Regions from separate parts of the Homo sapiens genome. Here regions 1, 2 and 3 are each linked to region 4. Evidence: promoter capture Hi-C in 16 types of primary human blood cells and fetal thymus (Javierre and others, 2016). All regions are on one chromosome and are shown on one strand. The core of a region is centred on a gene start or on the middle of the fragment in contact, and the rest is flanking DNA. Distances in the headings are between cores, read along the strand shown.

Evidence for each region. The method cuts DNA at HindIII sites, captures the fragments that hold promoters and counts their contacts. A CHiCAGO score of 5 or more calls a contact.
Region 1: a contact is called between a fragment that was not itself captured here and the fragment with the promoter of ZKSCAN2 in region 4, in 1 of 17 cell types (monocytes). The highest score is 5.0, in monocytes.
Region 2: a contact is called between a fragment that was not itself captured here and the fragment with the promoter of ZKSCAN2 in region 4, in 1 of 17 cell types (monocytes). The highest score is 5.2, in monocytes.
Region 3: a contact is called between a fragment that was not itself captured here and the fragment with the promoter of ZKSCAN2 in region 4, in 1 of 17 cell types (M2 macrophages). The highest score is 5.5, in M2 macrophages.

The regions. Positions count from the first base shown.
Region 1 is chr16:24,980,671-24,987,070 of GRCh38, forward strand. All of the region lies in intron 1 of ARHGAP17 (Rho GTPase activating protein 17), which reads right to left. Among named protein-coding and RNA genes, the nearest start is that of ARHGAP17, 31 kb to the right of the region's middle. The HindIII fragment of the contact is 9,234 bases long and covers 1-6,400 here.
Region 2 is chr16:24,997,099-25,002,785 of GRCh38, forward strand. The region is part of intron 1 of ARHGAP17 (Rho GTPase activating protein 17); the gene reads right to left. Among named protein-coding and RNA genes, the nearest start is that of ARHGAP17, 15 kb to the right of the region's middle. The HindIII fragment of the contact is 2,735 bases long and covers 2,734-5,468 here.
Region 3 is chr16:25,704,075-25,709,896 of GRCh38, forward strand. The region is part of intron 1 of HS3ST4 (heparan sulfate-glucosamine 3-sulfotransferase 4); the gene reads left to right. Among named protein-coding and RNA genes, the nearest start is that of HS3ST4, 15 kb to the left of the region's middle. The HindIII fragment of the contact is 3,999 bases long and covers 1,179-5,177 here.
Region 4 is chr16:25,256,424-25,262,459 of GRCh38, forward strand. It overlaps ZKSCAN2 (zinc finger with KRAB and SCAN domains 2), which reads right to left and starts at 1,422. Exons shown (of 7, transcript NM_001012981.5): 1 at 306-1,422. The coding sequence starts at 704. It overlaps ZKSCAN2-DT (ZKSCAN2 divergent transcript), which reads left to right and starts at 1,154. Exons shown (of 1, transcript NR_170220.1): 1 at 1,154-4,643. RefSeq lists enhancers at 788-1,348, 1,764-2,083, 2,204-2,283 and silencers at 1,034-1,273, 1,354-1,553. The HindIII fragment of the contact is 3,031 bases long and covers 519-3,549 here.

The DNA of each region.
Region 1 (6,400 bases), core at 2,135-4,634, 270 kb before region 4:
TGACAGTCAGCCTAGCAAGAACACACCTGGCATGAGATCGTCATAGTTTCACCATTAGACGCCCCCATTCCTCTCGCCAATGCCTCATCCCTCCTTTAGCAAAATGCCACCAGGGAATGGGTAACTTTTGCCTTTCTTCCCTAGCCAAAACCCCCAAATCTGGACAGGGCCCTGTATACCTCTCACAGAATCCACCTCAACTCTAAAATGACTTCCTTCTGTAAGTACGAGTATACACAGAGAAGTCTCAAGGCCTATTAAAATTTTCACAAGTTCAAAAAAAGAGATTCAACCTGAGAATCAGAACAAATATGTCCTTTTTCAGAGCAAATTATTTTTTAAAAAATAACAGAAGAAGAGAAGAACTTGCTCTACAATCCCAATGTGGGCTATAAGCAGATGTGGGAAAGTTAGTAATAGCTCAGAGGTATGCTAGAGCCAACTCAGACCAACCAACCATGTGCATCTTCTCCCAACTCCTTGCTCAGTAACCTCACACTGGTACTTGAAATCAAAAACATAAACAACTGCAAACAATTCAAATAGGAGCTTGGCAGTTGTTAAACAGTTATGAGCACAGTGCTGCAACAGCCACAAAGAAAATAAAGCAAACATAAAAACGAGGCAAGTATTAACTTCAGGAAAAACAAAAAGTCCACTGGAAACATAAAGATAGTCATAGTAACTAGTATGCTCAGCTGCAAATAATTGATTGGACATAATATAAATATCAAATAGTAATACAATGAAAAATTATAACTGTATTGAAAGGATGGGGGGAGCAGAAGCAGAGGGAAAGGGCCCTAAACCCTCATTTATCAGAACAGAAAGTCAACAGACAGTAACTAATTTGATAACCCAAACGATAGTTTACACATATTACTTATAATTATGAATATGAATAAATGTCACAATAAACTGTTAATATTTCAAAGTAGTTGCTTCTGGAGTTGGGAAATCTCAGAGAGTAGGGAGTGAACCCACCGTATTTTGTGGTAAGTCTTTTACTATATTATTTGACTTTTTAAACTACATGAATCACAGTTTTGAGGTTTTTTAAAAATAGCATGTTACTTACACTTTTAAGTAGCATGCTTGATTGATATGGCCAGGGGTGAAGTGTGCCTAACTTAAAGAATTGGTCCAATGTCAAGCTCTACAAATGCACAACAGAAAACATACCTCAGAGTATCTAAAATGTAAAGAAAATCAGTGTATTTCCAGCCATTTTTTTCAAATTAACTGGACCCTCTGCTTTAGAGGTACTTTACATGAAAAGGTCTGGAGGCTGAAAACTATATTGAATATATTATATGAAAATGTTAATGTACTGTTTAAAAAGAAATTTCCCCTTTGTTTCCTGTGTTTGTGGAGGCTATATATATATTACATTAATAAAATCAATTTTAGATTTGCAGGCTTAGATTTTTTTTTTTTAAATCAATTTTAGAGGTTGGGGGTGGTGGCTCACGCCTATAATCCCAGCACTTTGGGAAGCCAAGGTGGGTGGATCACTTGAGGTCAGAAGTTCAAGACCAGCCTGGTCAACATGGCAAAACCTCATCTCTACTAAAAATACAAAAATTAGCCAGATGTGGTGCCACACACCTGTAGTCCCAGCTACCTGGGAGGTTGAGGCACGAGAATTGCTTGAACCTGGGAGGCGGAGGTTGCAGTGAGCCAAGATCGTGCCACTGCACTCCAGACTAGGCAACAGAGCAAGACTCTGTCTCAAAAAAACAAAAAAAAAATGTGTAGAAAAAAATCCAAACCCAACTAGAGATTAAAAGTGATCTATAATTGGGAAGAATTACTTTTAAGTGACAAATCATGACTATGGAGTATAATACACAAACTGGAATGGCTCCCTCACACAAAGATTCTTTGCTGGCCTGTGGACTCTCCATCTTAATTTTCAGGCCTTGGTACTGTCTCCATCTATTCCAATAATGTGGTCCAAATGACCTGATCTCCCTCATCACTGTGACTGGTCCAAGCCTTGGTGCTTCCTATCGTGAACTGTTTTGCAGTGTTCACCTTTACCAGAGATATGGAAAGTCCAGCAATTATTCCACTATCGGCCAAGGTGCCCATTCAATAGGCCATTCAATAGGCCATGTACGTAGGCCACAGAAATGTGCTGGTTTTTTCTGAGAAGTGTTATCTTTGGTTGAGTTTTTGTAATTTATTAAAGCAAGGCAGGGGGCAAGAGACTGAATTCGTCAAGACATCTATAGACAAAAAAAAAACAGTAGACAAAGTGATCCAATCATAAAAAATAATACTTGATAAATCATATATATATATATATATATATATATATATATTTTTTTTTTTTTTTTTTTTTTTTTTGAGACAGGGTCTCGTTCTGTCACCCAGGCTGGAGTGCAGTGCCACAATCTCAGATCACTGCAATCTCTGCTTCTTGGGCTCTAGTGATACTCCCACCTCAGCCTACCAGGTAGCTGAGACTACAGGCATACACCACCACGCTCAGCTAATTTTTCTATTTTTAGTAGAGACAGGGTTTCACCATGTTGGCCAGGCTGGTCTCAAATTCCTGAGCTCAAGCGATCTGGCTGCCTTGGTCTCCCAGAGTGCTGGGATTATAGGCATGAGCCACCGTACGCGGCCAGATTTTTTTTTTTTTAAGACAAGGTTTTGCTCTACCTCCCATGCTGAGTGCAGTGGCCTGATCACAGCTCACAGCAGCCTTGAACTCCTAGGTTCAAGCTATCCTCCCACCTCAGCCTTCCAAGTAGCTGGGACGAGAGATGCGCACCATCATGCCCAGGTAATTTTTAAAATTTTTTTTATAGAGATGGATTCTCACTACATTGCCCAGGCTGGTCTCAAACTCCTGAGCTCAAGCCATCCTCCCGCCTCCAACTCCCAAAGTGCTAGGCGTGAGCCACTGCGCCCAGCCTAGATTGTTTTGAATCAGACATTTTGCTCCATGTTCCTAAACTTTTTGTATATGGGTTTTTTCTGCTTTGTCAGAGCCTTCTTTGTGTCCAACGTTCTGGGCTTGAAAACACACTTGAATGTTTCCTGTCTGCAACTGGAAAAACAATACGAATCAGGAAGGAACTTCCCACTCGCCATTTTACTCTGGGGTTTGTTTTTTCCTATGAAGCTATTCTGCAATTTTACTAGTCACTCAAGCAAGGCTGATACCAGGCAGGATCTTTAATTTACTTTTTGGTAAAGCACAGATTTTCTCCTCGTAATTCTCAAAGCAGCAGTGCTGCCCAGGCCTTCATAGTGCCACTTTCCCTTGACCTGGTGTGGCAATGTCCAACCCTGCAGTGTGGCTAATAGGATGTTTCACTGAGCTCACTTGCCAGGCAAGGAGAAAACAGAAATGTTTTCAATCTGGAGTAGTTCACTGTACCAAAAAGACAGAAGATGCTCAGACCAGGTGAGAGTCAAAGGAAAATTTCCAATTGGTCTGATATTTTCCATCTCTAATCATGGATTTCTGGTAGTTTCCTTCATAAAACATGTACTATGGGAGCCAGGGACTCCCAAACCATGGACACGAATGCTCAAGTCCCCGCGATCAATGCAGGCTGTGGTCTTCCAAACAATGAGCACTACCGTCCTCCTCCCTGCTAGACAGCAGGTTCCATGAGGGCAGAGAGAGAGCTCTAAAGTCATCACTCCTCCCCAGCGGCAAGCTCAGCACCTTCCTGCCACTTAAATACATACTGAGGCCGGGCGCAGTGGCTCACGCCTGTAATCCCAGCAGTTTGGGAAGCCAAGGCAGGCGGATCACGAGGTCAGGAGATCGAGACCACGGTGAAACCCCGTCTCTACTAAAAATACAAAAAAAAAATTAGCCAGGCAGTGGCAGGCACCTGTAGTCCCAGCTACTCGGGAGGCTGAGGCAGGAGAATGGTGTGATCCCGGGAGGCGGAGTTTGCAGTGAGCTGAGATTGAAATTGCGCCACTGCACTCCAGCCTGGGCGACAGAGCAAGACTCCGTCTCAAAAAAAAAAAAGAAATACACACTGAATGAATGAATGGATGTCTATCACATCTTTGGGAAAAAGGACATTCACAATGTCAAACAAAATCCAATAAAACTAGGTTGAAAAGCAGCCATAGGTGTATAGAACTGCCTTCCACAGTAAAATCCATAATGACTAAAATTGAAATGTGATATTACCTTTCAAGGTTAATCTTTTTATAAAATGGGAAAAAAAACCACAGTTGAAAATAAAAAAAAAATGTCTGTAGGGGGAGGCAAAATCCAGTTTTAAAAATTTTATGTTAAAAGAGGAGTGAAAGCCATTCCTCCAATCCCATATCCCAAAGGGTACTGTTACGAATTTGTTATATATCCTTCCCAATTTGTTTTCTAAATTTAAACTAGTGCTTCTCAACTGGAGGCAACTGTGTCCCCAGAGGACATTTGGCAATGTCTGGGGACATTTGTGGTTGTCATGATGGGAGATGCTACTGGTCTCTGTAGGCTAGAGGCCAGGATGCTACTGACTATCCTAAATGCAACCCCACACACACACACACACACTAAATAATATAAAGAATTATGAACAAGGAATGATCCAGCCCTGGATTTGTTTCCTATTGCTGCTGTAACAAATCACCACAAACTCAGTGGCTTGAACAACACAAGTATATTATATCACACTTCTTGAGTTCAGCACTTCCAACCAGGTCTCCCTGGACTACGATCAAGGTGGCAGCAGGGCTGAATGCCTTCCTGGACATGCAAGGGGAGCATCTGCTTCCTCGCCCTTTCCAGCTTCTTGAGTCTACCGCATTCCTTGGCCTCCTCCTGCACTGTCAAAGCCAGTATGGTTCACTCTGGGCCTCTCTGCCACAGTCACCTCTTCCTCTGACTCTGCGACCTCCCTCTTCCACTGCTAAGGACCTCTGTGATTACACTGGGCCCACCTGGCTAGTCCAGGCTAATCTCCCTTTCCACTGATTAGAAATTTTAATCCCATCTCCAAACTTAGTCCCCCTCTGCCATGTAATCTAAGACATTCAGAGATTCTGGAGATGGGGATCTGGACATGTTTCGGGAGGGCAGAGCATTATTCTGCCTACTTCAGGTCCAAATGTCAACAGTGCCAAGGCTGAGAAGTGCTGATTTCAAAGGACACACATACACACACATACGTACACACACATACATGCACACCCATACACACACACACAGATGCACACAGGTAGATAGAGACACGAGGGGCATTTTTACACGTCAGAATACAGATGTACAACTCCACCACCTCCCTTTTTATGCCTGTACATTAACCTATTCTGTGGATATACCATGTTCTACTTAACTGCACGAAAGCAAGGCAGCACCACCAAACCCTCCAGCCTCATATTCAATCTAATTGAACTGTGGACTGAAGACAGTTGAAGACCGTCAAACCTCCACATCACAAACGGTTCCTCCAAGGCTGTAGGGATCTACTTGAGCCTTCATAATAGCCAACAGTAGCAGCCATATTTGCTGGGTGCTTTCTATGCCCCAGACACTGGGCTGGCACTTACATCTACTCTAATTCTCACATCAACCCTATTGGGTAGGAACCACTATTTCCCCCATTTTACCTATAAGGAAAGTGAGGTCTTGAAAGGTAACTTGCCTAGGACCCCAGCACTAATAAGTGGGATTGTGGGATTCAAACCCAGAGGGCCTGACTAGCAAGGCCTACACTTAGTTTATCTAAACCAGGGGTCAGCAAACTATACCCGCAGGCTCAATCTAGCTCACCGCCCATTTTTTATGTTCAGAAAGCTCAGAAGAATGGTTATTTTAAAATGATTGGAAAAAAACAAAATAATAATATTTGGTAACACATGAAAATTTTATGAAATTCACATTTCAGTGTATTACAGAAGTTTCACTGGAACACAGCCAGGCTCATGCATTTGTGTGCTATCTATGGCTGCTTTTGAGCTTCAACAGCAGAACTGAGTTGTTGCGAAAGACATCACCGTATGACCTGCAGAGCTCAAAATATTTGTTATCCAGCCATTTACAGAAAATGCTGGCCAACCCCAGGTCTCTATTAGTAACTCTTGCAGGATGTGGTGCAAACCTTGATAGCTAACTTTTTAGAATCACTTTGAGGATGGGTGAGGCTGGGCTGGAGGTGTATTTTCTCTTCCTCGACATTCTGCCTCATAGGCAAGCAGCAGCTGCCAAAATGAACAGGGGTGGCTGCCTCTGATAATTCAGTCCAAATGCGGAGGCACAGCCCAGTGCTGGTGACACTGGTGACAGGAAGAAATCAGAAGTTATGTCCCTCCTGCACCTACGCACCTCCATCCACTCACCTCCTCAAAAACACTGAAGTATTTTAATCACTGTTTGCTTTCTGGTCTCTACTGATAAACATATTTCGGGACAAGACCT
Region 2 (5,687 bases), core at 2,851-5,350, 260 kb before region 4:
CATCCAGATGCATATTCTCTGTCATTAGCACTTGGACTGGTGCAAGGCGCCCAGTACACACCCAGACACATATTCTCTGTCATTAGCACATGGACTGGTGCAAGGTGCCCAGTACACACCCAGATGCACATTCTCTATCATTATCACCTGGACTGGTGCAAGGCGCCCAGTACACACCCAGACTCATATTCTCTATCATTAGCACTTGGACTGGTGCAAGGCGCCCAGTACACACCCGGACACATATTCTGTCATTAGCACTTGGACTGGTGCAAGGCACCCAGTACACACCCAGATATATATTCTCTGTCATTAGCACTTGGACTAGTGCAAGGCACCCAGTATACACCCAGATGCGCATTCTCTATCATTATCACAATTATTTCTTTGGCAGATCCCTCTGGCTGCAGTGTGGAATATGTGAGGGAAAGATATGCTGCCGGGTAGGGAAGCCATGGAGGAGAATCTGAAGAGTCCCCAAAACACGAGATCCAAGTGAGATGGAGGACAGCCCACACTAAATAGTGGGTAGGTAGAGCAGGGCACAGAGAGCCACTGCAAAGGAGAAAGGAACAGGACTCGGTGACTTGGGGGTGGACAGGAAGTGAGGGGGAGGAGCTGAGGATGACCACCAGGTTTCTGCCTTGAGGGACTGGCTGGACAATGTGTGTTTTTCCTCACCAAAAGAGAAACACTGGGAGGATATGAAGGTACAATGAGGTCAGCTCTGGAAATGCTGGGTGAAGGGACCTGTTGAACATTCAGGTGGAGATATCCAGTTCCCTTTTTTCTAGATGGTTCTGAAGCACAGAAAAGACATCTGGTCCAGAAACGAAGAGCCTGCTGTGAGGACCAGCAGCAAACACGGATCTGGGGGAGTTCATGCAGAAGCAGACCCTGCAGAGAAGACGGAGGCTGAGGATGGAGGCCCTGGGACACAGCGGAAGGAGAACCAGGGCAGGGGACAGGATAGGAGTCCCCAGGGAGGGCAGGGAAGAAGCCAGGAGCGAGGTGCGGGTGAAGCATGGATGAGGGACTGGCTGATGATGCAAACTGGGCCCCGGGCACAGGGACGTCAGGGACAGGAAAGTGGGAGGAGAGGGTCCTGGGAAGCCAAGACGCAGAGCGTGGATGACAGAGGAAGACGCAAAGCCCCAGAAGGAAGGGGAGGGCTGAGAAAAGCCTGACCATGAGGAGCAGCCAAGAAGAAACAGGCAGCAGATGGAGGGAGGTGAAAGGTGCATGGCACAGAGGGGAGGCTGGCAAGGCAGCGCCCAGGACAGCGGCACAGGTGGCGGGGCCTTGGACAGAGGGTGGGGTCCAGGCAGGTGGGTGGTGACGGCAACCATGACCACGGGTCAACCTGGGCCTCAGACACTGGGGAAAGGTGGCCATGTCCAGTTTTCTTAGGAAATTAGGAGGCAGGTCATCCAAGGAGAGAGGGTGGGTGTCTGGGGTAGGGTGAAGTAGGTTTCAGAAAAGTGAAAGTCTGGCAAAAGCACTCAGGAAAACGGGACAGAAAACTAAGCCAAGCGCTGGACGGCAGCATTCATTCAGCCCAGCTGAGCTTGGAGGCCATGAAATGCTGGCAGCCCCACACTGCACGACTGCAGGGTCTTTCTGGGCCACGCCCCGAATCCCAGGTATGGAAGTGAAGGACCCAAAAAGAGGAATGAATCAGGCTATTATTCCGCAGAACAGGTGAAAGAAAAAGGCCAGGTAGACAGAGCCTTGGAAGTCAGTCACCCACATGCCTGACCCCATCAGAGAAGAAAGGGGACCAAGCCAGGGCGGGAGGGACTGTGTGGGAAAGAGGAGGCTGAAAGGAGGAGAGACCGCGGGCAGAGGTGGACAAGGGACCAAGGTGAAGACCTTTGAGGTGCTTCTTGAACCACAGTGGCGAATGTCTTTCTGGACAAGAGTGCCAGTGCCCACCGCCATCACAGGACACAGCCCCATCCACACTCCCGGGACAGCAACATCTCATTGTCCCAAACTCTGCCAATTTCATCAGTGAAAAGTGGAGCCTGGAAGCTTTGCATTTCTTCAATGACTTCGAATTTTTTAAAGTGGTCTCACAGATTTCCTGGTCATCGGTATTTCATCTGAGAAGTTTCTGTCTGTGATATCTGCTCATTAGAGCGGAGTTCTTAAAATTACTAGAGAGCTTTATACATTCAGTATATTCACCTCTGTAGTGGTTGCTCTCAGTTTTTTCCAATTAGTCATCGTTTTAAATTTAACTTTGATATAATAAAACAGACAGAAGTGTAGTTATTATGTGGTTAAATCTACAGGTGTTTTATTTATTTATTTATTTATTTATTTATTTTTTAGAGATGGGGTTTCACTCTGTCACCCAGGCTGGACTGCAGGGGCACAATCATGACTCACTGCAGCTCCGGCTCCTGGGCTCTAAGGATTCTTCTATCTCAGCCTCCTGAAATAGCTGGGACTACAGGGGTGTGCCACCTCACCCAGCTAATTTTTCCAAAATTCCTTTTACAGACACGGGCCTCACTATGTTAATCAGGCTGGGCTCAAACTCCTGGCCTCAAATGACCCTCCTGCCTCGCCTCCCTAACAACTGGGATACAGGTGGGAGTCGCATGTCCCACCTACAGGCTATCTTTTATTGTTCTTTCTCCACATTTTTATGCCAAAGCATGCAGTACTTTCCACAATAAGCTATATTTTCTTGTATTTATTTTGTGGTTTTATTTTTTACATGAAAGCTTTAACCCATTTGGAATGTATTTTGGCATAGAGCAGTGAAGTGAAGGCTAACCTGGCTATTTTCCCCAGTGCTGACCTGCTGTGTCACACTGTATGTCCTCACTGTCTCATGACGCCTCCCTAGCACACACCACCTTCTTAAACACAGCAGAGCTTGCTCCTGGTGGTATCAGGAGCCGTTTCTCACGTATAGGAACACAGCAGAGTGGCTGATTGGACCAAGGTCACAGACACAGCGAGTAAACAGTACAGACAGGATCTCAAGCCCTCAGACTCAAGTCCAATACACTTTTTACTACAATGCAACTGCCCCAAAGCAGTTTTACGTTGATTAAGCCCTTATCTAAAAGTTTTGAAAACTGAATTAACTAATCGCCAAGAAAGCCAATTCTTGAGGGAAAGTAATTTGATGATCATCAAATCCCATGACAGAACACATTTCTGCTTTGTGGGGGAAAGGCTCCCATCTAGAAAAAGCATGTATTTTGGACACAGGCAGAACAACACACACAGACGCACGAGGTGCACATCTGCAAATAACATTTCTCTAGAGAGCAGCTCCCAGCATGGGAACTGTAACTAAGCATTGCTTGGACAACTGGCAGGCTTTCTTGAGCTGCCGACCATGTGGACGGCTTTTCTTGAATCTTGGGGTTTTTGTCCATGCGCTTGAGGATGTCTGTGAAGTCCATAAGATTATAGGCAAATCTGTGTGTGGATGATTTTTTCTGGCAACGGGGGGGTTATTAAAACCTCTACCTAAATCTACAGGCAGCAAGGTTTCCATTCCTAAAGACTGCCCTGAGATTCAGAGGCTACAATTCAGTCTACTGCCTTGTGACCTGCTAACCACCTCTTCTTTAGAAGTGACATTAGCATACTGCCACATACGCTCCATTAAAACTCCTCTTACCATTTCTCAACTTTCTCCTCCAATTTGTTCCTAAATCTAAAGTGCATTGCAATTGTTTTCTCCATATAGTTGGACTACTACAAATTCAGCATTCTGCATTTAAGATCACCTGCCAACCTCATGACACAAAACAGACACAGAATAAAGCTCAAATAGCAGACACACTAAAAGTTGTGTGGTTCGAAAATGAGGAGAACGTTGCTTGCAAACTTCCATTGGGAACAATTCATATTACAACACTTGTATTTTAGCAGGATTTAAATAGTCCTTATCATGTTCCTGAAATGTCCAATAAAGGTAGAATCATATGCCCTTTACACAATATTCCTATAAACATTTATACAGCTACACACTATTTTGGAGTCTAACCAATTAAATAAGGGATGAAAAAGAAATCATTGAACTAAATAGCAAAAGCAGAAATAGAAGCACAACACTGATAATATTATGTACCTAAAATAACAAAAATGATCAGTTGCATAGTTTAGTAAATAGGCACTATTCTCAATTTAAAAAACAAAAAAAAATACCTGGGAAGCATATAAAAGATTGTACACACAAAGTCATGTGCAATGCTCATCTTGTAGATATCAATTCTCAAAGTTTAGTTCACAGATTTATTAGGCCATAAAAACCTGGGTTTTATTTATTTTTGAACCTTTAGAGCCTAGCCCACAACAGGGACCCAATAAACATCATTTGAATAAATGAGTCCCAACTCAATCAAAATCCTAAATAATTTTTTCTAGAAACTAGAGAAGATGAGATGCCAAAACTCGCCTTTATACAAAAGTAAGAGAGATACTGAAAAAAGAATATTTATTATTATTTTTTAATGAGACAGGGTCTCTTGCTGGAGTGCAGTGGCAGGACCACAGCTCACTGCAGCCTTGAACTCCTGGCCTCAAGCGATCCTCCGGCCTCAGCTTTCCAAAGTGCTGGGATTACAGGCGTGAGCCACAAACCCAGCCTGAAAAAGAGTATTTGTAAGAGACCAGCTCTACCCAATTTAAAACATATTACAGATCAACAGTTATTAAACCATACTGATGCAGGCTAGGTGCAGTGGCTCATGCCTGCAATCCCAGCACTTTGGGAGACCAAGGTAGGAGGATCACCTGAGGTCAGGAGTTCAAGACCAATCTGACCAAAGCGAAACCCTGTCTCTACTAAAAATACAAAAATTAGCCGGGCATGGTGGTGGGCACCTATAATCCCAGCTACTGGGGAGGCTGAGGCAGGAGAATTGCTTAAACCTGGGAGACAGAGGTTGCAGTGAACCAAGATCGCACCACTGCACTCCAGCCTGGGTGACAGAGCGAGACTCCATCTAAAAAAAAAAAAAATGTTGATGCAAACATATACACACACCCAAAGCCATAAATCAATGGAATAGAATAGAAAGCCCAATAAAAGGTCAAAGAAAATATCACAATTATATGTTTCTAAAAAGGAATCATTGTAAAACAATGAAAAAGTGAAGAATTACTGTTCCCTATGTAAATAACATCTACATCAACCCTAACCTGAAGCTCCTCACCTCTTCCCTTGCTCTTTTCTTCAGCCCAAACATGGTGTTCAATGTTCTTCCCAGTCACCGCCCAAGGCTGCTGTCTTAGCCCTGCCGTCATCACCTCTCTGAGCCTACTGCAGTAGCTTCCTATCTGGGTTCCCTTTCCCTTCCTCCCTGGTCCTGACTCCATCGGCTGCCAGCTGACTTCCCACAGCACCAACTTTCTCAACCTTTTGCCGAAAAGAGTTCCCCAAGTTCTACCACAGTAGCCCTCAAACCATCATTCCCCCCTAAAACTGGAACAGAAGCTTTTCTAACGATGGACTTCCACAGATGACGACAGAAGCCAATCAACATCGCCTGGCTCTCAAAAGTTGGTGCTCCAGGCCATGGATGGCCTGTATTTTAGTCCTGCTATGTTGGGGTTGTTTGAGGATTATTATGAACCCCAGCAAGTACAAAAATGCAAAAGCAATGGGAGTATTAAACTGGTTCTGGCTGGGCGCGATGGCTCACGCCTGTAAT
Region 3 (5,822 bases), core at 1,928-4,427, 450 kb after region 4:
TCAATGCATGGTGATTTATTAATCACCAATGATAAATCAGTGAATTCATGAACAAAAAGAGGACCTTGTATGTACGATACTCCAGGCTTCTGGAAAGAAAGAACCCTCACATTTCTTGGGAAGTGTAGCTAAGAATTGTTCTCAGCTTTTTCACATACTCTTTTTTTGCAAGCCTATTTTGGGTGCAGAAAGAGAAACCCACTCAAATAAGCTGTGTGGGCTAGCTAGTCTCCCCCAAAGGTTCCTATAGCACACAACATTATTTCATTTATTCCTCACAGTGGCCTCATGAAGTAGATGTTTTCTTACAGATAGAGAGATTGAGACTTTGGAAGGGCAAGTGACATTCCTGAGCTCCCATAGCAGGATGTCCTGAGCTGGATGTCTTATTTATTTATTTTTAGAGATGGTGTCTCGCTCTGTTGCCCAGCCTGGAGTACAGTGGCATGATCATAGCTCACAGCAGCTTTGAACTCCTGGGCTCAAGTGATCTCCTGCCTCTAGTAGCTGGACTATATAGGTGCTCCACTGTGCCTGGCTAATTTTTAAAAAAATTGCTTTGGGAGGCCGAGGCAGGTGGATCACCTGAGGTCAGGAGTTCGAGACCAGCCTGGCCAACATGGTGAAACCCCGTCTCTACTAAAAACACAAAAAATTAGCCAAGCGTGGTGACAGGCACCTGTAATCCCAGCTACTGGGGAGGCTGAGGCAGGAGAATCGCTTGAACCCAGAAGGCAGAGGTTGCAGTGAGCTGAGATCATGCCATCACACTCCAGCCTGGGCAACAAGAGCAAAACTCCATCTCAAAAAAAAAAAAAAAAATTGTAGAGAAGACATCTTGCTCTGTTGGTTGCCCAGGCTAGTCTCAAACTCCTGCACTCAAGTAATCCTACAGCTGAGGCTTGCCGAGGTGCTGGGATTACCTGTGAGCCACCGCACCCGGCCCTGGGTGCCTTCCTACTATTCCTGGCCTCTGTTGCTGTAGCACAGTTGTAGGAGATGAGCACGGATTATTACTGATAGATCATTATGCTCCATGAGTAGTTGGATTGTCTTTCTCTGGATGTATTATCAAAATTACCTAATTGCCATATAATAATCAGGCCATGACACGGGGGCCCCCTGTTTGACTTTTGTTACCTCCTAGAGGTGTCCGCACACCATTCCCTCCAGGTTAAAGCTTCTGCAGAGGGTTAGAGATTTGGGAGCCCCTGGAGATGAGGAAATATTTGAGTCAAACTACGTGGGCACCTCTGTCATAGGACAGTTTGATTGCTTGGAGCTCTGTGGTATTTTGAAAAGGAAGCTGGGCTGGCTGCGGTGGCTCACGCCTGTAATCCCAGCACTTTGGGAGGCCGAGGCAGGCAGACCACAAGGTCAGGAGGTCGAGACCACCCTGGCTAACACGGTGAAACCCCATCTCTACTAAAAATACAAAAAATTAGCTAGGCGTGGTGGCACGCACCTGTAGTCCCAGCTACTCAGGAGGTTGAAGTAGGAAAATTGCTTGAACCCAGAGGCGGAGGTTGCAGTGAGCTGAGATCGCACCACTACACTCCAGCCTGGTGATGAAGCCAGTTTCCATCCCAAAAAAAAATAAAAATAAAAATAATTGAATAAAAGAAAGAAAAGGAAGCTGAAGGTGGAATCAGAAATTAAGGATTTGAGTCTGAGTTCTGCACCTTGTGGGACTTGTTTTGTGTGCATAGATTGGTGTGTAGAGCCTTTGTTTTCTCATCTCTAAAATGGGAATAACAACCTCTACTAACTCCACAGTGATTTTGCAAGGGTAGAATAGTGACTGTGTGTTGGGATCGACTTAGTCTACATATGTTAGTTGTTATTAATCCATGCACGTTTTCATGAATTCCCCCAGGTTATTGGTTTCCTGGAATGTTGCAGTCCAGGGAGTACCTGAAATACAGGACAAGCACTCTTATAAAGTTAGATTAAGAGGTTTAATTTACAGAAACTATTTTATAGCATGGATATCAAACGTTCTCAGGGCAGACTGCGTAAAGATCTGGGGAATTCCTGGACAATCTCAGACTGTGTAACTGTTTCACCGGATTCATCATTGTTACGTCATTTTTAAAATACCGAAACAACATAAAAACCTACGGAGCTACGGGTCACACTTGCTTCTTAAAACTGCCCTGCAGTTGTTGAGCTTTGGGAGTGACCAGAAGATTCTGTCATTTGGTTCTCAATTGACCTATCCTCTCTTTTCAGGCTGTGTTTCCCAGGTTGGTGTATTAACTTTCCACCTTCTAGTTGTCTGCCTAACATGCTTTCTTTTTAAATCTTTTTTAATATATATATTTTTTAATTTTACTTTAAGTTCTGGGATACATGTGCAGAACATGTGCCATGGTGGTTTGCTGCACCTATCAACCCGTCATCTAGGTTTTAAGCCCGGCATGCATTAGGTATTTGTCCTAATGCTCTCCGTCCCCTAGCTCCCCACCCCCCGACAGGCCCTGGTGTGTGATGTTCCCCTCCCTGTGTCCATGTGTTCTCACTGTTCGGCTCCCACTTATGAATGAGAACGTGCGGTGGCCTAACCTGCTTTCTAACCCTCTGTGCTAGACAGAATAATGACCTCCCTGAAATGCCTGCATCCTAATCCCTGGAACCTGCAAATATGTTAGATTAGCTGGCAAAGGGGAATTAGGTTGCAGATGGAATGAAGATTATGAACCAACTGACTTTAAATGGGAGATTGTCCTGAATTATTTGGTTGGAGCCAATGTAATTCCAAGGAATTGTATACAGAAGGCTTCTCTTATCCGCAGTTTCACTTTCTGAGGTTTCAGTTACCCATGGTTAACTGTGCTCTGAAAATATTAATGGGAAATTTCAGAAATAAATGTTCATAGGTTTTAAGTTGCTCATCATTCTGAGTAGTGTGGTGACATCTTGCGCTGTCCTGCTCTGTGCCACCCAGGATGTGAATTATCCCTTTGTCCAGCATGTCCACCCTGTAGACTCTACCCATCCTTGAGTCACTCAGCAGCTGTCTTGGTTATCAGATTGACTGTCGTGGTATCTCAGTGCTTATGTGTGAGTAACCTTTACTTTACTTAATGATGGCCCCAGAGTGCAAGAGTAGTGATGCTGGTAATTCAGATATGCCCAAAGAGAACCCATGAAGTGCTTCTTTTAAGTGAAAAGGCAAAACTTTTCAATTTAGAAAGGGTAAGAATAGTAAAATAAAATATTTTGAGAGAGAGACCATAATCACGTAACTTTTATTATAATATATTGTTATAATTCTATCTTATTATGAGTTGTTAATCTCTTACTGTACCTAATTTATAAATTTAACTTTATCATAGCTATGTATGTATAGGAAATAACATAATATCTATAGGGTTTTGTATTATTGATGGTTTTAGGAAGTCACTGGGGGTCTTGGAGCATATCCTCTGTAGATGAGGGGGCACTATTGTAAATGGAAGAGGGAGGCAGAGAGAGAACCAGAAGGTAGTATGAGAAGGACTCAATCACTGTTGCTGGCTTTGGCAATAGAGGAAGAGGCTACAAGCCAATGTGGGCAGCTTCTAGAAACTGGAGAAAAGGCAAGGATCTGACCCCTATTCACTGCTTTAGCCACATTCAGTTGCCTTATTTTCTTTGTTCCTCTGCTTGAGCTTTGCTAGCCTCCTTGCTGTACCTGAGAAGTCAAACATGGCCCTGCCCCAGGGCCTTTGCACTTGCTGCTTCCACCACTTACAATGTTTCTTTGCATTAGATAATTGCATGTCTTATGTCCTCCCTTCATTCGGGTCTCTGCTCAATCATCTTATCCTCAGGGTGGCTTTTTCTTGTACCACCTGGACTCACCTGCTAGTGGTAAGAGCATCACTTATTGGAAAATGCTGGTGAACAGTGTCATCATTGACATATGCCTGTATTCCATAGTTACTCCACACCCACCCAGGTTTCTGGTATCCTAATTTCCTGTTTTTTAATTCCCCTATTCTGGAGAGAGGATCTAGTCATTGATCCGGTACCACAAAATGACCTTAATGTTGCTGGGGTCAAAATTTAAAAGATGTTTATGTAACACTCAGCTATCCCTGCTATTTAAGTATGCTGCCACCAGGTGGTGATTGTGGGACACAGGTTGGGTCCAAAGTCAGGCATTTCCTGAGATACAAAACGAGTGGCTCCTTGCTCCTTCCAATCTGGATTAACCCTGCATATTTTGTTCTTATATCATAAAATAAGAGGCTTTATAAAATATTCACTTTCAGTAAACAATAAGCAAGTATCAAAACAGATGTGTAAAGCCGTGTTTAAAACATACTGGAATACAGTTGTGTATTTGTTTTTTCTCTTCCCCATTCTGAACCAATTTCTTCATTTGTGTTCAGATATAGAAAAAATCTTGGCAGGTGGAATTTTTCTTTCCTTCTTAGCATTCTTATGACTATCTAAATATGGACAAAAATGAAAATGCCATGTTGCCATAAGTATATCTTAAAGCAATTAATATTAAGAAATATTATTATAACACATATGCCATATATTAAATTGCTACATTACCCATTTAGAATTTGAAAATTGCATGTTGATTTCAACCAAGAAACCTCTTGACCTCAATGAGAACCATGGATTTCCTCATTTAGAACAAAACAATGAGTTTCTTCTGTATTTATGGGTTCTCACTAGCCTGTGTATCTGTGTCAAAAGTTCCTTCCTTCTTTTAGTTTACCTTCAACTCTTGGCCTTGGGACTTTTCAATTTTCCTGGGATTCCCTTTTCCCATCCTTCCATTTTTCATCCACTAGGAGGAAGAAATTGCCCCAAATCACAATATGTTAGAACATCTTTAAGGATAATCATTTTCAGTGGTGGTTCAAAACTTCATTTCAGCTCCAGAACTCTATTGGCTAGAATTCCTCTGGTTATAACACAGAAATCCAAGGTAAAATCTGAACCGAGCATAAATCAAAAAGGAATTTAATGGCTCATGTATCTGAGAAGTCCCAGGAATTGGGGATATCTTTTTTTTTTTTTTGGCTTAATTAGTGTTTAAACAATGTCACCAGATCTCTGCTTCTGGATTCTCTGTCGCCGCTCAGATGGTTGACTGAGTTCTCAAAACTTCTCTCCTTGTGGCTGTAAAGTGGGTGCTAGCCTGATTCTCTTTCCCCAAGTATAGGTGGAGAAGCTTGTCATCTTTGTCCTGGAAGTCTTTGCTGAAGACTCGATGTAGCTCATTAGTTCTTAGGGGTCGTGCACACATCCATCAAGCGGTTTCTGTTGCCAGCGGGGTGTGAGGCTTGAGGCACTGCCTCCCTGGAGCCTAGGGAGGAGTTAGTTTCCCTGGAGGCCCCTGGATCTGGTTATCAAAGACAGGAAATGAATGCTGCTGCCAAAACAACAGATGTCTGTTTCTAGACACTCCTCTGTTCAAATGCAATCTTTCCCCGAAGTACAACCGAATAAAACAGACACAGTGAGGTTCCACCGGCTTGCATGGAGATAGAGGACCTAGGTTCTGTTTTGTCTTTCTACCAAGGTGGACACAAACAGAGCAGCTCAAAATCTCCCTGTCTAGGTCTCTGCTTGAAGATTCTGCATCTTTTCTTTAACCGAGAGGGGAAGAATGGAAGGAAGAGAAGAAGAGAGAGAGGGAGGCAATGCAGGAAAAAAAATGTATCCAGTCTCTAAACCTAAGATGTGTTCAATCCTGAAAAAAGTATCTATGGAATCTGCCCCTCAGAAATCACTAATTATTTATTTAGAATATTTTCTATTTTCATCCCTTCCTTAGCAACCCCTAGCAGCTGCCTAGAAAATTTTAAAGGAAT
Region 4 (6,036 bases), core at 172-2,671:
TGTTCTCTTATATTGTTTTGTTGCAAACATTATGCCAAAGATGACGATAAATGCTTAGGTGAATAATGTCTGGTTTCCATTGTAAGATAATATTTCAATCAAAGCTTTTATTTTTCTATTTCATGTGAAATTCTGATCCCCTTTTAAGTGGATTCACTTAAAGTGAAAAGACCCCCTTATAGGGTCTTTTATTAGTACCATTTATCTTTCTCTGAAGAGCACGTCTTTCTGCAATACATCCCTGCCCACATGCCTTTCCCATTCCCTTTTTTCTAAGTACAAAAATTTGGAAAATCCTCTCTCACCTGCTGTCTTAGTCTTCCAGTCTCTTTCTCCAAATGCACTACCAGGGCCACCGCTTCCTCTCCACTTTGCGGACACTGCTTCTGTGCCCAAGCCTGAATCTTCTCGGGTAAAATGGTGAGAAACTGCTCAATCACCAGCAGCTCAAGTATTTGCTCCTTGGAACGCATTTCTGGCTTCAGCCACCGGCAGCAAAGTTCCCAGAGTTTACTGAAAGCTTCATGGGGTCCAGTCACATCCTCATAACAGAATTGCCTGAAGCATTTGCGGAAGGTCTCAGAGCTATCCGATCCTTCCAGAATGGGCTCTGATGCCCACTCAGGGTCCTTTTCCACCTTCATTATTAGGCATCCCTCAACCTCCAGGGGCGCGTCGATCTGAGAGTCGAGGGCGACAGCCATGCTGCAGCCCAGGGGTCAACTTCACGTCTAGCTCAAGGTGGGGACCCAAAGAAGACTCCAAGCGCTCCCTGCTTAATGTTCCTGGGAGTGTGATAAGGTACGGAGGTAAAAACGGCCAGGTCGGCAGGAACAGGGTATTCCAGGCTGATTAATCAAATCTATGCCAGGCCCTTGAAAAGGTGAACGTATACTCTAAGATGCAAAAGCCTGGCCTCTTCTCCAAACAAGATGTGACCGCGCAATGTGGTTTTCCAGAGTGCATCCCTCTTAGTGCAAAGTCGGAAACCGGGAGGCTGGACGACTGGGAGAAAAATGAAGCAGGCTGAGGAAAGGCTGGGCGGAGGCGGACAGCCGGGCCGGGAGGGGGTGTGTCCGCTACTCCCGGGTCGGGCGCGGAGAGGCGAGTCCCCGAGTGGGTGGGGCCGGATGTGCAGGCCCCGCCCGGCGCCAGGTTCCGGGCTCGGGTCACCGCAGCACGTCCAGGCCGCCGCGGGTGCCGCTGGGGCCGCCGGATTCCGAGAGCGGCGCCGGGCTCTTTCGGGCCCACGACGGCCCCGACCGTCCTGAGGAAACCGCTGCCGCCGAGGAAAGGCCGCAAAAACTGTTCCGCCCGGAAGGGAGAAGAGCTGCGGGGCGAAGCCAGGGCTCGCAGGGGGCAGCGGCAGGCTGCTCGCGTTCGGCCTCGTCCACTCGGCCCGCGGAGAGCGCGGGGGGCGCTGGGAACCGCAGTCACGCATGCGCCGCCTGCCACCGAGCGCCGCGGGGCCCGCGCGAGGCGTCCTGGCGGGCGAGGGGCTGGGGGAGGGGGGGGGGGCCGTGCGGTGGACTCTCGCGAGAGCGCGCGGCGCGGTGACTCGTCGCTGAGGGACTTTAAGATTGTAGAGGGGCGCGGAGGGTCCTCCCCGGGGCGGAGGGACACAGAGGGATTCTAGGGAACCTGCCGTCGCGAGTCCCGCTTCAGGCGGAGAATCTAGGCGGCGGCGGGGCCTCCCTGAGGCGGAGGAGTCGGCACCGGGGCCTGGCTGCCGGGGAAGGAGAGCACGGGAGCGGGGACTCCTGTGTCTGGCGGAGGGACACGGCGTTCCGGTGGAGGGATCTGTTCCTTGTACCTGGTCCAGGGTTGCGGTCGGGGATGGAGCGGTTACCCCGACCCTGCGGGACCTTCTTCCTCTGGCGGAGGTGCACGGCGCGGCGTGGTGTTTTTCTGGCGGAAGTATCTGTGCGTGGCCCCAGGCCCTTCCCGGCGCGGTCTCATCTGGGGCCACTTGTTGGCCCTCGCGTTGGGGAGGTTCATGTGGTGCATCCTGATGAGAAGGGGGGTCACAGGGGTCTCGGGGCCAGGGTTCAGCCAGCCAGGCCCCAGCTTGCTCTCTTCTGGTGCTGCCCCTGTCCCTGAATTCATAGACCCGGCTTTCCCTCTCTTGAGCACCTACTATGTGCCAGGCTGCGCTTTGCGCATGTAGCAGAGGCAACAGTGTCACCTGGGAAGCTGGTTTCCCCCAAAGGAACTCTTGTCTGTCCGTTGTTGCAGAGCCAGCGCATGAGACCAAGTGTGAGTATCAGGCAGTGCAGCCTTCATTCAGTGGCCATGGAATTGGAGAAGTGGGAGGGTAGCTCGCAAATCAAGCTCTCAGCTCTTGGAAACTGAGAAGTTACAGGTAATAGGGAGTGTTGACGAAAAGTAAAACCGTGCAAAATATTTGAAGAGATTTATTGTGAGCCAAATACGAGTAACCACAGCCTGTGATACAGCCCTCTCGAGGCCCTGAGAACATGTGCCCAAGGTGGTCGGGGTGCAGCTTGGTTTTATGTTTTAGGTTGGCATGAGACATCAGTCAAATACATTAAATACATTGGTTTGGTCCAGGAAGGCGGGACAACGCAAAGGGGTGGGGGTGGGGGCTTCCAGGCTATAGGTAAATTTAAATATTTTCTAGTTGACAATTGGTTGAGTTTGTCTGAAGACCTGGGATTGATAGAAAGGAAGTGTTCAGGTTAAGATAAAAGATAGTGGAGACTAAGGTTCTTTTGAAGTCTTATGGTGGCTGCTCTTAGAGATAATAGATGACAAATGTTTCCTATTCAGATCTTCAAAAGGTGTTAGACTTTTAGTTAATCCGTTTAGGATTGGGAGGGCCTGGAAGAAAAACATCTAGCTATGTTAATAGATGTTCTTTACAGATGCACATTTTACCCCACAAAGGATAGCTTTTGGGGGAAAATGCTGTCCTTTATGGAAGAAATTGCAAAATAGGGCAAGGAAACATGTTTTGGGGTAAAATATTTTGACTTTCTTTTTGTCACGTAATGTTATGCCAGAGTCAGAATGGAAAGTAAGTCATCATATATAGGATTAAATAAAACCCATCTGATGAGAATTTATGGTTTGTAGGTCATGACTCCCCAGATCCCTTAGATAGGAATTTGGGCAGGATTAAAAAAATCAAGAGTTTAGGCTGGTCGTGGTGGCTCACGCCTATAATCCCAGCATTTTGGGAGGCCAAGGCAGGTGGATCGCTTGAGGTCAGAAGTTTAAGACCAGCCTGGCCAACATGGCGAAACCCCGTCTCTACTAAAAATACAAAAATTAGCTGGGCATGGTGGCACACGCCTGTGATTCTAGCTGATTGGGAGGCTGAGGCATGAGACTCAACTTGAACCCGGGAGGCGGAGGTTGCAATGAGCTGAGATTGTGCCACTGCACTCCAGCTTGGTTGACAAAGTGAGACTCTGTGTCAAAAACAAAACAAAACAGAAAAAAAAAACAAAAGAATCAGAGCTTAGTCGTCAGGTGTCCTTAATGAAGGGGCTGGGCATTAAGAGCAAGGCGAGGAGGCAGAAGGAAAGCTTGAGCCCAGGAATTGGAGACCAGCTTGGGCAACATGGTAAGACCCTGTCTCTAAAAAAAATAAAAATTAAGAACAAGAGGAGGAATATTCATGTTTTTTCTTGGGAAGGGAGGTAGATTTTCCTGGAATCAAGGAGCTGCCCCTTTTTTTGTCCTTTTTTTGGTCTCTTCGGGTCATCACGGTGATTGTCAACTGTCATGGCAACCAGTGGGAATGTCATTTAGTACTGAAGTTGGATTAGAATGAAGCTAGAGGTTCTTCAGAGGTCGAGTAAGCTAAGAAGGAACCTATGACCACAGACAACCTGTTTTCTAAAAATAAGCAGAGTTAAATCTGAGTAGGAATTTAGCTATGTCATGGAGGCATTGCATTGGGTAACAAAAGCCAGGTAGGCGTCCAGCTAAGTCCCCTAGGCCCTGCAACGGGTAACAGCAGTACTGACTCTATGTTAGAGAAAAGCTTGCTTGCTTGAGTATAATTATTGTTTTGCCTGAGTTTGTAAACTATTCACTAAAAACAGCCACAGAAAAAAACAGGACCTTCTTCAACAGATAAAACACACAGACCCGCAGCTTTGGGAACAGGCTGATGGCCCCTGCACAGTCTAGTCACAAGGCATTGACCAAGAAAGTAATGACTAACTGCCCATCTGAGACTGCGCATGATTCACAAGAATGTTTCTTTGTTTTGTTTTTTGAGACAGTCTTGGTCTGTCTCCCAGGCTGGAGTGCAGTGATGTTGGTTCGCTGTAGCCTCTGCCTCCTGAGTAGCTGGGACTACAGGCGTGTGCCACCGCACCTGGCTAATTTTTGTATTTTTAGTAGAGATGATGTTTGACTATGTTGGCCAGGATGGTCTCGAACTCCTGACCTCAAGTGATCCACCTGCCTCGGCCTCCCAAATTGCTGGGGTTACAAGTATGAGCCACCGCTCCTGGCCCACAAGAATGTTTTGATCATTATTTCTCCTAATTTTCCTTAAAATCCCTGGATCTAGAGGCACAACTGAGAAAGGTGGTCTTTGAATGCTAGTGCACTGCCTTTTGCAGGTTGCTGGTTTCTCGAATAAAGCTAACTTTGCTTTCACCAAAGCTTGTCTTTTGAGTTTTTGGCTTTCAGGCGACGAGTGGCCTGGACACCAGTTCGGCTACATGTATGTCAGTGGGCAAAACAAAAATCCTTATTCTGGGAGGTAGATAGCTTATTAGAAAACACAACCTAATCACTTGTTTCCCAAATGTTAAAAATTGAGCCAATTTTAGCCCCAGAAGCTTAGGGTACCATGTACATAACAGGCATTACCTGAGGGTGGGGCAGAGAGAATCAGTGGGGTACCTCGTATATGCCAGGGGTTGTATCAGCATCCTTACACAGCTCATTTTTCTTTTTAAATAATACTTATTGAGGACCTATTTAATGCCAGATATGGTGGTAGGTAGGGAGCAAAAGCAGGATTCCCCTCCCATTATTGAGTTTTCAGTCTGGTGGGAGAGGCAGGAATTAAATAAGTAATCCACAAACTCAAGTACAATTCTAAGGGAGATGGGTGCCACCAAGAAGAGACATGGTGCTGAGAACCTATGTCTGTCAGAGGGATTTGATCTATTTGGGAGGTCTGGAAAGGTTTTTTTGAAGAAGCAGTGCTAGGGGTGAGATCCAAAGGAGAAGAGCTAATTAGGCAAAGCCTAGTCCTCACAAAAATCCTATAAACCAGATATGATTACCTTCATTTTAGAGTTTAGGGCATTGAGACTTGAGCAAGGTGATGTCACTGCCCAAGGTTACATCAGATTAAATGGCAACCCAGGATTCAGATTCAAATAAGAGTAGGGTTCTTTATATTCTCCTTGGGCTATTTGGTGGTTTTAGGAGAGGCAAGTATCACAAACAGCTTGGGGACATGAGGGAGCAGGAATCACAAACTTGAAAGCCTGCAGAGCTCAGGCAGATAGCATAGAGTGAAGTAGGGCAGAGTGTAAGACAATAGGGGATGGTGGGGAGTGTGGTGAGCTGAAGGCCACATTTCCTGTCTAAAGGAAGCAGCCACTAGTTCCAGTCTCTTGTTGCCATGCAGGATTACAGACCAAGCCCTGCTGGATCTTCTGATGATATTATTTTGAGGGCTTGGCGCGGTGGCTCACGCCTGTAATTGCAGCACTTAGGGAGGCCGAGGTGGGCAGATCACAAGGTCAGGAGATCGAGACCATCCTGGCTAACATGGCGAAACCCTGTCTCTACTAAAAATACAAAAAATTAGCTGGGCGTGGTGGTGGGCGCCTGTAGTCCCAGCTACTCTGGAGGCTGAGGCAGGAGAATAGCGTGAACCCGGGAGGTGGAGCTTGCAGTGAGCCGAGATCGCGCTACTGCACTCTAGCCTGGGCAACAGAGCGAGACTCCTTCTCAAAAAACAGGCTAGAGTGCAGTGGTGCAATCATAGCCCACTGCAGCTGGGACTGCAGACACATGCCACTACCCGGCTAATTT